2 separate regions of the Homo sapiens genome follow, and region 2 is linked to region 1. The links are contacts of gene promoters, found by promoter capture Hi-C in human tissues and cell types (Jung and others, 2019). All regions are on one chromosome and are shown on one strand. The core of a region is centred on a gene start or on the middle of the fragment in contact, and the rest is flanking DNA. Distances in the headings are between cores, read along the strand shown.

Region 1 (4,560 bases), core at 1,091-3,590:
CTCTTCTTCTCTCACTCTCCCACTTTGAATAAGTGCTGTCAGCTCTCCCTCCTTTTTGTTCCCCATTCCTCTGCTGGAGCCTTTTTTGGGCCACCATTTCTTACCTGGGCCTTTGCAATAGGCTAACCAACATTCCAGCTCTAGGCGTCTTTACTGATTTCTGGCACAAAAATCGGATCATACCATTCCAGCACTTAAAAAGTCATGTTTCTCTGTTTTTAAGGATTATAAAATTCAAAATCTTTAGCATACCACAAAAAACCCTTTGTAAGTTTAGGATACCAGCCAGACCCCTCTCCTGTCATGTCCTACTGCAAGTAGCCTCTTTTCACGGGGTGTCTCACACCTCTGCATATATCATTCCCTTATTCCCTCTTCCTCATATGATCCTGTACTCCTCTCCTCTTTTAGGTAAACTCCTTACTTCTAGTGCTTCAAAGCACAATTTGAATATCAACTCTTTTTAAAGCCATTGTATTAGTCTGTTTTCACACTGTTACAAAGACATACCCAAGACTGGGTAATTTATAAAGAAAAGAGATTTAGATGATTCACAGTTTCACATGGCTGGGGAGGTTTCAGGAAACTTACAATCATGGTGGAAGGGGAAGAGGCAAGTCTTACATGGTGGCAGGCAGGAGAAAGCAAACCAGTGAAGGGGGAAGAGTCCCTTATAAAACCACCAGATCTCATAAGAACTCACTATCACAAGAACAGCATGGGGGAAACAGTCCCATGATCCAATCACCTCCCATCAGGTCCCACCCTCCATAGGTGGGGATTATGGGAATTACAATTCAAGGTGAGATTTGGGTGGGGACACAAAGTCAAACCATTTCAGCCATCCCTGAATGTCTGGCCATCCCATTCTTTAGTATTCATCACATGGTATTGTAATTATTTGCTCATATATCTCTCTCTTCCATAAGGCTGTGAACTCAGCTATGTCTTCTTCCACACCCAGGGAATGCTTGGCTGTCTCAGTCCATTTTGTGCTGCTAAAACACAATAACACAGACTGGATAATTTTTAAATAATAGAAATTTATTTCTCACAGTTCTAGAGGCTAGGAAGTCCAAGATCAAGGTGCCAGCATCTGGTGAGGGCTTTCTTGCTGTATCCTCACGTGGTGGAAGGGCAGAAGAGCAGAAGAGAACACCCACCTCCACAAACCTTTTGATAGCAGCATTAATCTATTCATGAGGGTCACTCTATTCATAAAGGTGGAGCACTCTTGACCCAAATGCCTCCCATTAGGCCCCACCTCCCAATATTCTTGCATTGGGAATTAAGTTTCCAACATATGAATTTTGGGGGACATATTCAGACCATAGCAGTAGCCAGTGTTTAATAAACAAGAAAATGAATAAATAGGCTTAGTAGTGTTATCAGGGACGACAGAAGGGCATGATGCCTTTCTGTGCCCAACCTCCTATCAAGTGCTGCCCTCCCACCACCCAGCACTATGTGCCTATGCAGGAATGTGTCCTTTGAGCAAAATACAGCAAGGAAAGAGGGAGAAAAATCTGTGTTTTCACTTTTTTTCTTTTTCTTTTTAAGAGGTGGGGTCTTGCTGTGTTGTCCAGGCTGGATTTGAACTCCTGGGCTCAGGTGGTTCTCCTGCCTCCACCTACGAGTAGCTGGGACTACAGGCACACACCACAGTGCCAGGTTTTTGTGGTCTCTCTTTAAAGGTGAGTCTGCATTCACCTTTGGAATAGTTCTAGTTGTCATAGATTGAATATCCTATTTTAAAATGCAATATTCTTACAACTGCCTTTGATGAAAGGGAGTTGAGATGGGACCATTGGGGAAACCTCCAGATGACTAGGGGGCAAGTAATTTGATTGCAGTGCCAAAATGCTTCCATTTAAGGAGCCAAAGTTTGCAAATGTGTGTAAACTGATCCAATCTATTCCCAGGATGTGCCTGAAGTAACAAACATATGTAAGTTGATCCAACCTATTTCCGAGGTGTGCCCGGGATATAAATGGTTAACATTGACAAACACACCTTATGAAATCTACCAGCAGCTGAGGGTGCCAGGCACCTCTTCTACCTCCCTGGAAGGCCCAGTGGGGCGGCGTTTCGAAGGTGTCTTCGCCCCTGTCTCCGGCCCCTGTCCCCTCCCGGGACGTGGGCGTTCCCCCTGAACTCGAGTCCCGCCTCTTCCAGGCTGCCGGGGCCTGGTGGGCTGGCCCGCCACGTGGAGCGCTGGCTTGATTCTCGAAAGGGGCCTACGCCATTGCCGCGCCGCAGCTCCAGGACAGGCCCTCGCCCCACGTCAACAGCGTAGGGCCGGCTGCCCAGGTTTACTCTTACGCCACTGACGTAACGTCATCGTGCGGGACGTGGACGGAAGAAAAAAGAGAGTGAGCGAGCGCCGGAATCAGCCCGGCGTGGAGTGCGGACCCGCGGTAGTGCCAGGGGGCGAAGGCGGCGGTGGTGAGGAAGGTACGCGGCGAGCGGCGGGGATGGCTAGGCGCCCGCGTCTCTGCGGAAGCTGTTGCGCGCCCAGGCTCAAGCGCGAGGGGCGTGAGCGCCGGGCCGCTGGAGCGGGGACGCTGCCGGAGCAGGTGCCGGGGCCCGGGGATCTGGCCCATGGGTAGGTGTGGGCCTCGGCCGAGGGATGGCGGCTGCATCGGGCCGCCCAGGGCGCGCTGCAAGACCGTGGCGCGCTCCCATATGCCGGTGCGCGGCCGCCCCGGGATCTACGGATGGCTACGGGCCCTGACCTCCCCGGCCTCCCCTGGGTACACCATGTAAGGAACTGGGCCAAGTGGAGACTTCAGGCATCCGCGGGCCCCTTCTTTCCAAGAGTATGGAGCCTGCACTGGTGGGTGGCGTGGGTGGCGGTGGTGGCAGCGCCGGGATGCCGCGGGTTTTAGCTGGCCGCACGCTGACTCTCAGGGGCCTGGGTCCCTAGTTCCCCGCGGCCCTCCAGGCGTTCATCATCCCCTCCTCAAAGCCAGACTCCCTTTGCAGTATGGCATTCTGTGTATGCTGGGGTCTTCCTGTTACAGCAGGACGCACCCACATACCCCACCTCGTCCTTCCCCCATCATTATCCCCTGCCCTCTGAGGTGGTGAGGCCCATCGGATCTTTGTATTTAAGTGGTGAGCCATATACCGAGCATGTGTTTGTGGGTGAACTGTGCTGGGACTGAGGTTCACTTCTCTGTTCAAATCAGTTAGATAAGGGCATTCTGTTTAGTCTGTAAAGAGATATTGAGAAATGTCTTGAGTCAAAACGTGAAAACTTTCTTCAACTGATGATATGGAGTCTAAACACACACACAGAGTCGAGACACAGTCACACAAATCTAGACACGAGTCTAGATACACACACACACACACACACACACACACTCTCTTTGCTCCTTGGGATCAACTGTGTGCTTCTCGAGGGCGTAATACACTCTGCCTGGTCAGTCAGAGATGGTGGTACAGGGGAGAGGTCAGGAGGCTTGGTTTCTACGTCAGTCTTCAATCTCTTATTTCAGTGACCGTAGGTGTTCAGAGCTTTCAATGACTCTTGGTTAATAGAGAGGTAAACAGTCAGTCAATATATGTGTGTGATTGTATCTAATAGTGAATATTCGTTGAATTCTTTGTTCCCGTGATGGGTCTTGAAGGAAATTAAGGAAAAAATAATTGTAAGGCATCATTAGTGCCTAAAAGACAAAAGGAGGAAAACTGACATTTACTGACCATTTGTTGTACCCAAGCACTTTCCACGCATTCTCTCTTTTAATTCTCACTATAATTTCATGAGGTCCATAGTGTTAGTATCCCTGATTTATAAGTGAGGAAACAGAGGCTTAGAAAAATTGGGTAACTCTTACATATGTAACTAACCTGCACATTGTGCACATGTACCCTAAAACTTAAAGTATAATAATAATAATAATAATAATAATAAAGAAAAATTGGGTAACTCTCCACAAGACACACAGCAAGTGCAGAGCTCGAACCCAAATCTGACCAACTTCAAAGGCCTTGTTCCTCATCGTTTTTGCCATATTGTCAATGGAAAGTTTGTAATCCAGATGGGAAAAGCAGTAGTCATGAGCTATTTAAAAGCTAACCTATAGAATTATATCCAGCTGTGAAGACTAGCCTTGCTGGGGAAGGTTTCTTAGGGAGGTGGAACTGGAATTTGATTGTTTTACCCTTTGGCTCTTCTGTAGTTATTTTGGAGAATTCACATGTAAATAATTGTTTAGCAGCCATTATTGAAGGAATTTATATAAGCAGCAAACTTAGATCACGTGCTAAAATCATACTTCAGTGTTATGAAAAAATTGAAATAACAAAGATCAATTAATACTTTCTGTTGCCTACTAGATGCCATATGTTTTAGAACAGCTGCATCCTGCCAGTCTCTTCTCTGTCCCATTTCAGTGCCTTTGTGCAGTATAAATTGTAAAGCAATGACACCATTCCTAATTTTTCTTCACTATGGGGCTAAATGCTAGTCTTCTGAGGCACATTTAAGAGGGCTGGGATATATCCACCAATCCATGGAACAAAAGTTAAAAGGAGGCCCACAAACAAAGA
Region 2 (4,560 bases), core at 941-3,440, 220 kb after region 1:
GAGGCCCTGTGGACCCTGAGTGCTCTCCCCTTCTTCTGTTTGCCAGGCCATCTGTGTGCCTCTGTAAATCTTTGTCCAGAGCTTTGGCAAGCTCCTGGTGTGGTAGGAGGCACCGGTCAACACTGACCAGCTGTATTTGGGTGATAGTTAGAGGGGAGGGGTCTGTTGTCTTGGCCTAGAACTCTAAAGAGAGAAAGCAGGTTATTTTTAATTACTGCATCTACTGCCCTTTGTATTGTTCTTGTTGTGTGGGCGACTTCCTCCTATTGTCCCTGCCCAGTTCCTCAACTGCCTGAGTGTTTCCCAAATGTTCTTTCTGGATGCACCATTTACCCTTTTGTGTTTTCAGCAACTGCCGACCCTTTACGCGCACGCTCTATTTCTGCTGTTAAAATCATTCCTGTGAAGACAGTGAAAAACGCCTCAGGCCTAGTTCTCCCTACAGGTATCTCCTTGGGTCGGTCGATTTTCTCTAACTGTGAGCGGATCATGGCATGGTTTTCCTTTCTTCTTTTCTTCTAACACGCACTTTGAGCTGAATCGTTGCATGTTTAGGAGGCATTCCGTCTCACTTCCTCAGCTTGCTTCCTTACTTCCTCTGTGTATGTGAATGTCTGTGTGCGTTTTCCTGAGAGCCAGCGAATGTGGGGAGGAACTGAGGACAGAGGCCTTGCCCCTCTTTTCTTTAGGAGAAGGGTCAGTCCAGAGGCTCAGCTTTCCCTTTGGGATGGGTCTGCGGTGCATGGACATCCTAGGCTCTCCCTAGAGGTTTCCAGCCCCCAGTACTTTAGCAAAAACTGCAGTCTCCCTGAGAATTAACCTGGTCTCACAGAGAACCTCTGAACTTAGCTGAATTTGAAGCAGCTGCCCTTAGGTGCCCAACCTAGATTCGCCTCTGATGCTCACCGGGCCATCCCAGAGCATCCCCTTTGCCTTCCCCAGTTTTACCTGCAGCCACTTCCTGCCTCTCCCCTCCAGAGGGTGGGGGAGTACAGTTCAGATGTCAGCTCTGGCTCATCGCTTCCTTCTGTACAAAGTGGGGACACATGAGGCCTACACAGTACTTTATCCAATGGCGCTTTCAGAAGTAACTGGGCTGTGTGTCCAGGAACCTATGGATGGGCTGCATCCATCAGTGTGCCTCTCATCCTTTTGAAGTGACTATGAACCAGTTTTCCCAATAGTTTGGTGACATCAGTCGCTTAGCCTCTTGATAGAGTTGGATAAGTCAGATGCTCTCCAAGGCTGATGCTTGCCCTGACACATTGTGCGTTTCGTGCATTGCGTTCAATACAAGAGGTGCTGACGAGGCAGGTCCATTCTCTTGTCTAACGCTAATGATCATTCTCCCTGAGTTGTTGGCAGGGGGCTGCTGGCGTGGAAGGAAAGGAAAGAAGAGGCTTTGCTTCTCTCTGCCCTCGGAGGGGAATGGGGATGAGCTGGATGTTTGAACTCACATCCTGCCCAGACACACACCCTGAATGTCAACCTGTAATCCTAACTGTGACAATTTTAGGTCAGGGATCTAGGCTGTGAGCAATTTGAAAACAAAACAAAACTGTGGCGTTCTGCATAGCTCAGCTGCACATAAAGAAACACTCTGCGTGTGCCTCCCAGAACTGTGTGGTCTGCCCTGGTTCCCTGCCTCCGTGACTGATTTCCTGCAGGATGGCATTCAGATCTTTTGAAGCGTATTTTGAAATCTTTCTCAAGGAAACTCTAAAAGTTGACCTGGGTCTGTTATTAGGCCCTAGTGAAACTGTAGGAGACGCCAGGACCCTGTGAAGACAGCTGAGGCTCGGTGGACACTGCTCATTGAAGGATTTAGCCTTCTGAGTCGTTTTTGTTGCTGTGAGTTTTCTTTGTTATGTTTGGAAAGTGAGACTGTCACTCGTGAGCTTTCTCGCCAGGCAGCATATCCTTCTGTCTCAGCATTTTGGGAGTCTTGACTTGCTGATCCAAGGAGATTTGCTTTTCCTTTTCCCACTGGAAAACTGCAAAGGGGTAGTTGTTCTCCATGGGACCACCCGCCCCCACCCCCCCCACCGCCCCCACTTCCGTAGTTGCCAGCCTGGTCTTCAATGAGAAGTATGGTCTGGAAGCTTGAAACATCTTTCATAAACTCTTTCTTGAACTGTGCCTTACTAACTGGTCAGAAGTCTGCTCATCAACCTAAACTTCATTTAATAAAAGGAATAAACCTGCTTTCATTTTGAAATGTTTTCAGCTGATAGTATAACTCATCCATTTACTCAGAACTCACCATTGCCGCCATGTTCCCCTAACTTCATGATGCACAGTAAACCTCTGAAAACTTGCCCCTCTCCACCACCCACAGATTAATTTCATTGACCACAGGTGTTCAAAGACTTCGCATGGCTGTAACCAGGTTCATCTCATTCCCCGGCTGTAACAATTTGCTAACCAACTGTCCTTTAATCCTTCAGGAGTCTTGGATTCAGTCTTCAATTTTGGACCTTTTCTTTTCAGACATGGATCTTACAAAAATCTGCACTGGGAAGGGAGCGGTGACTCTCCGGGCCTCGTCTTCCTACAGGGAAACCCCAAGCAGTAGCCCTGCGAGCCCTCAGGAAACCCGGCAACACGAAAGCAAACCAGGTGCGCGGAAGCTAGGGAAAGCTGTTCAAAGCCACGTGGGAAGGGCGGGAGGAGGCTCTGGTGTTTTTGCTCAGGAGGGTGTGAGTTCATCAGATACCTCTTGGGGGGGGGGGGTGTGTGTGTGTGTGTGTGTGTCTCTTACGGTCCCCTGGGACAGTCAAATCATTTGGATGGGTAGTGGTCAAAGCCTCAAACTGACAGTCACATGCTGCAGATGAAGGCACAGCAATAACCACACTTTATGTTAGCTTTGACTGAGCAGGTCATCCTGTGACCACAGCCAGTGCTCTGCAGACTGCTCTCATGCAGACTGAAATAGCTTAGGGCATGGGGGGTAAGTAAGCGGTGCGATGGGCTAGAGGTTGGGCTTCTCAGAGCTCATCCCTGCTTCCTAGAGGTTCACTGTGACCTGTCCAGGCTGGGCTGGAGGTGCAGCCAGGGGAGACTGAGAAGTGTGGATGACTCAATGATCTTGCTCCTGGAAAAGCAGAGGTGGGGAGGGCTCAGGCCTGGGATTGGCCACTAGCCAGCTGCGGGAGCAGGATCAGGAAAGTAGCTCAAAGGCCCAGTGTAAACTAGGAGCAAAGGGAGATCAAAGAAGCCACATGAAGCCCATCTCCCCACCTTAACCCATCACTTGGGAAACCTGAGGTATTGAGGTTTAGAACTGGGACTTCAGAACCGGGTAGATCTCTGTGCACACCCTGTCCCCACCACCTGTCAGCTGTGCAACTTTGGTCGAGTTATTCACTGTCTCTCAACCCTGATGAACTGTAGAATGGGGTTGATAATTGCATCTGCCTCAGGATTATTGTGAGGAAGAAGTGTATGAAGTGCTGTGTATCATGCCTGGTGGCATGGAATAGACTGTTAGATGTTAGCTGCTATTTGATTATGATTAGATTATTTTGGCCTCTCCAGGGACGACTTTGCACAGCCCAAGTATTCTGGTAGTTGGCAAATGCTGACTTTGAGATCAGGCACAGTTAGTTTAGGGTGAGACAGCACCTCTCCACTCTGTAGGGCAGTGACTTTCACACTTTAGCTGCATCAGAATCACTTGGAGTAAAAAGGTAGGTTGCTGGGCCCCAGCCTGGAGTTTTAGAATGTAGGGTTCCCACTTGCAGGTCTGAGGTAGGGTCTGAAGGTTCACATTTCTGACAGGTTCATGCTGATGCTGCTAGTGCAAGGACTGCATCTGAGAGCTGCTGCTGTAGGGGATGGGAGCTTGCTTTCTTGAAGGAAAGGGAGGGAGAAATGGAATGGAGGGGAGGACCATTCCCTTGGGACCAGAGAGGCTAGGCAGTAGGGTATGCAGACCCCTCTGGTGCAGCGGGAGTGGTGTGTTGTGATAAGACAGATATGATATGTAGGATGGAAATGGCCAGACCTAGCATCCTGGAAACTGATTTTCTTCCTTCCCAGCTACCCATAACAGGTGCCAGGGCACATGCTGGTGGATGAGGCCAGGCTAGGGTTTGAGCACAAACCCCTTTCTGGTGATGTTGGTCCCCGTGAGGGCTTCTTTGTCCTTAGGCTGAGGGCAGGCCCGAGCAGCCCACAGCCCTAAAAGTCAACAGAGTAGCTTCTTGGTCCTGCATCCCTGAGCCCAGCCCTGACTCCTGACCCGCTGGAAAGGTGGGGGTGAGGAGAGAAGGCAAAGTTATTTTATTCTAAGGCTAACCTCATCCAGCCTCTCCAAGCCTAACTGGGACGACCCACTTCCAAGCTAGAGAGCATTTGGAGAAGAGAGAATCCTAAGGGATGATGCAAAGAGAAAGGCTTTAATGTGCAGTCCCCTGGCCCAGTCAAATAACCTTACAAACCAACTGTCCCGTCCTCTGGCAGCAAATGGAGGTGGTGGAGAGGGAGCTTGGAGCTCCCTCTAGTGGTTACAGTGTGGCATTGACGTAGAACACAATGCCCACCAGGTGTACGCCT

Evidence for each region. The method cuts DNA at HindIII sites, captures the fragments that hold promoters and counts their contacts. A contact is called where the count stands out against the background at its distance.
Region 2: a contact is called between a fragment that was not itself captured here and the fragment with the promoter of ALDH18A1 in region 1, in 1 of the 25 tissues and cell types used here (H1 embryonic stem cells).

Annotation. Positions count from the first base shown.
Region 1 is chr10:95,654,491-95,659,050 of GRCh38, reverse strand. ALDH18A1 (aldehyde dehydrogenase 18 family member A1) reads left to right here and starts at 2,340. Exons shown (of 18, transcript NM_002860.4): 1 at 2,340-2,454. RefSeq lists a silencer at 2,494-2,603. The HindIII fragment of the contact is 17,710 bases long and covers 1-4,560 here.
Region 2 is chr10:95,430,507-95,435,066 of GRCh38, reverse strand. It overlaps SORBS1 (sorbin and SH3 domain containing 1), which reads left to right. Exons shown (of 33, transcript NM_001034954.3): 5 at 350-445; 6 at 2,491-2,619. Among named protein-coding and RNA genes, the nearest start is that of SORBS1, 130 kb to the left of the region's middle. RefSeq lists an enhancer at 4,096-4,560. The HindIII fragment of the contact is 5,522 bases long and covers 1-4,560 here.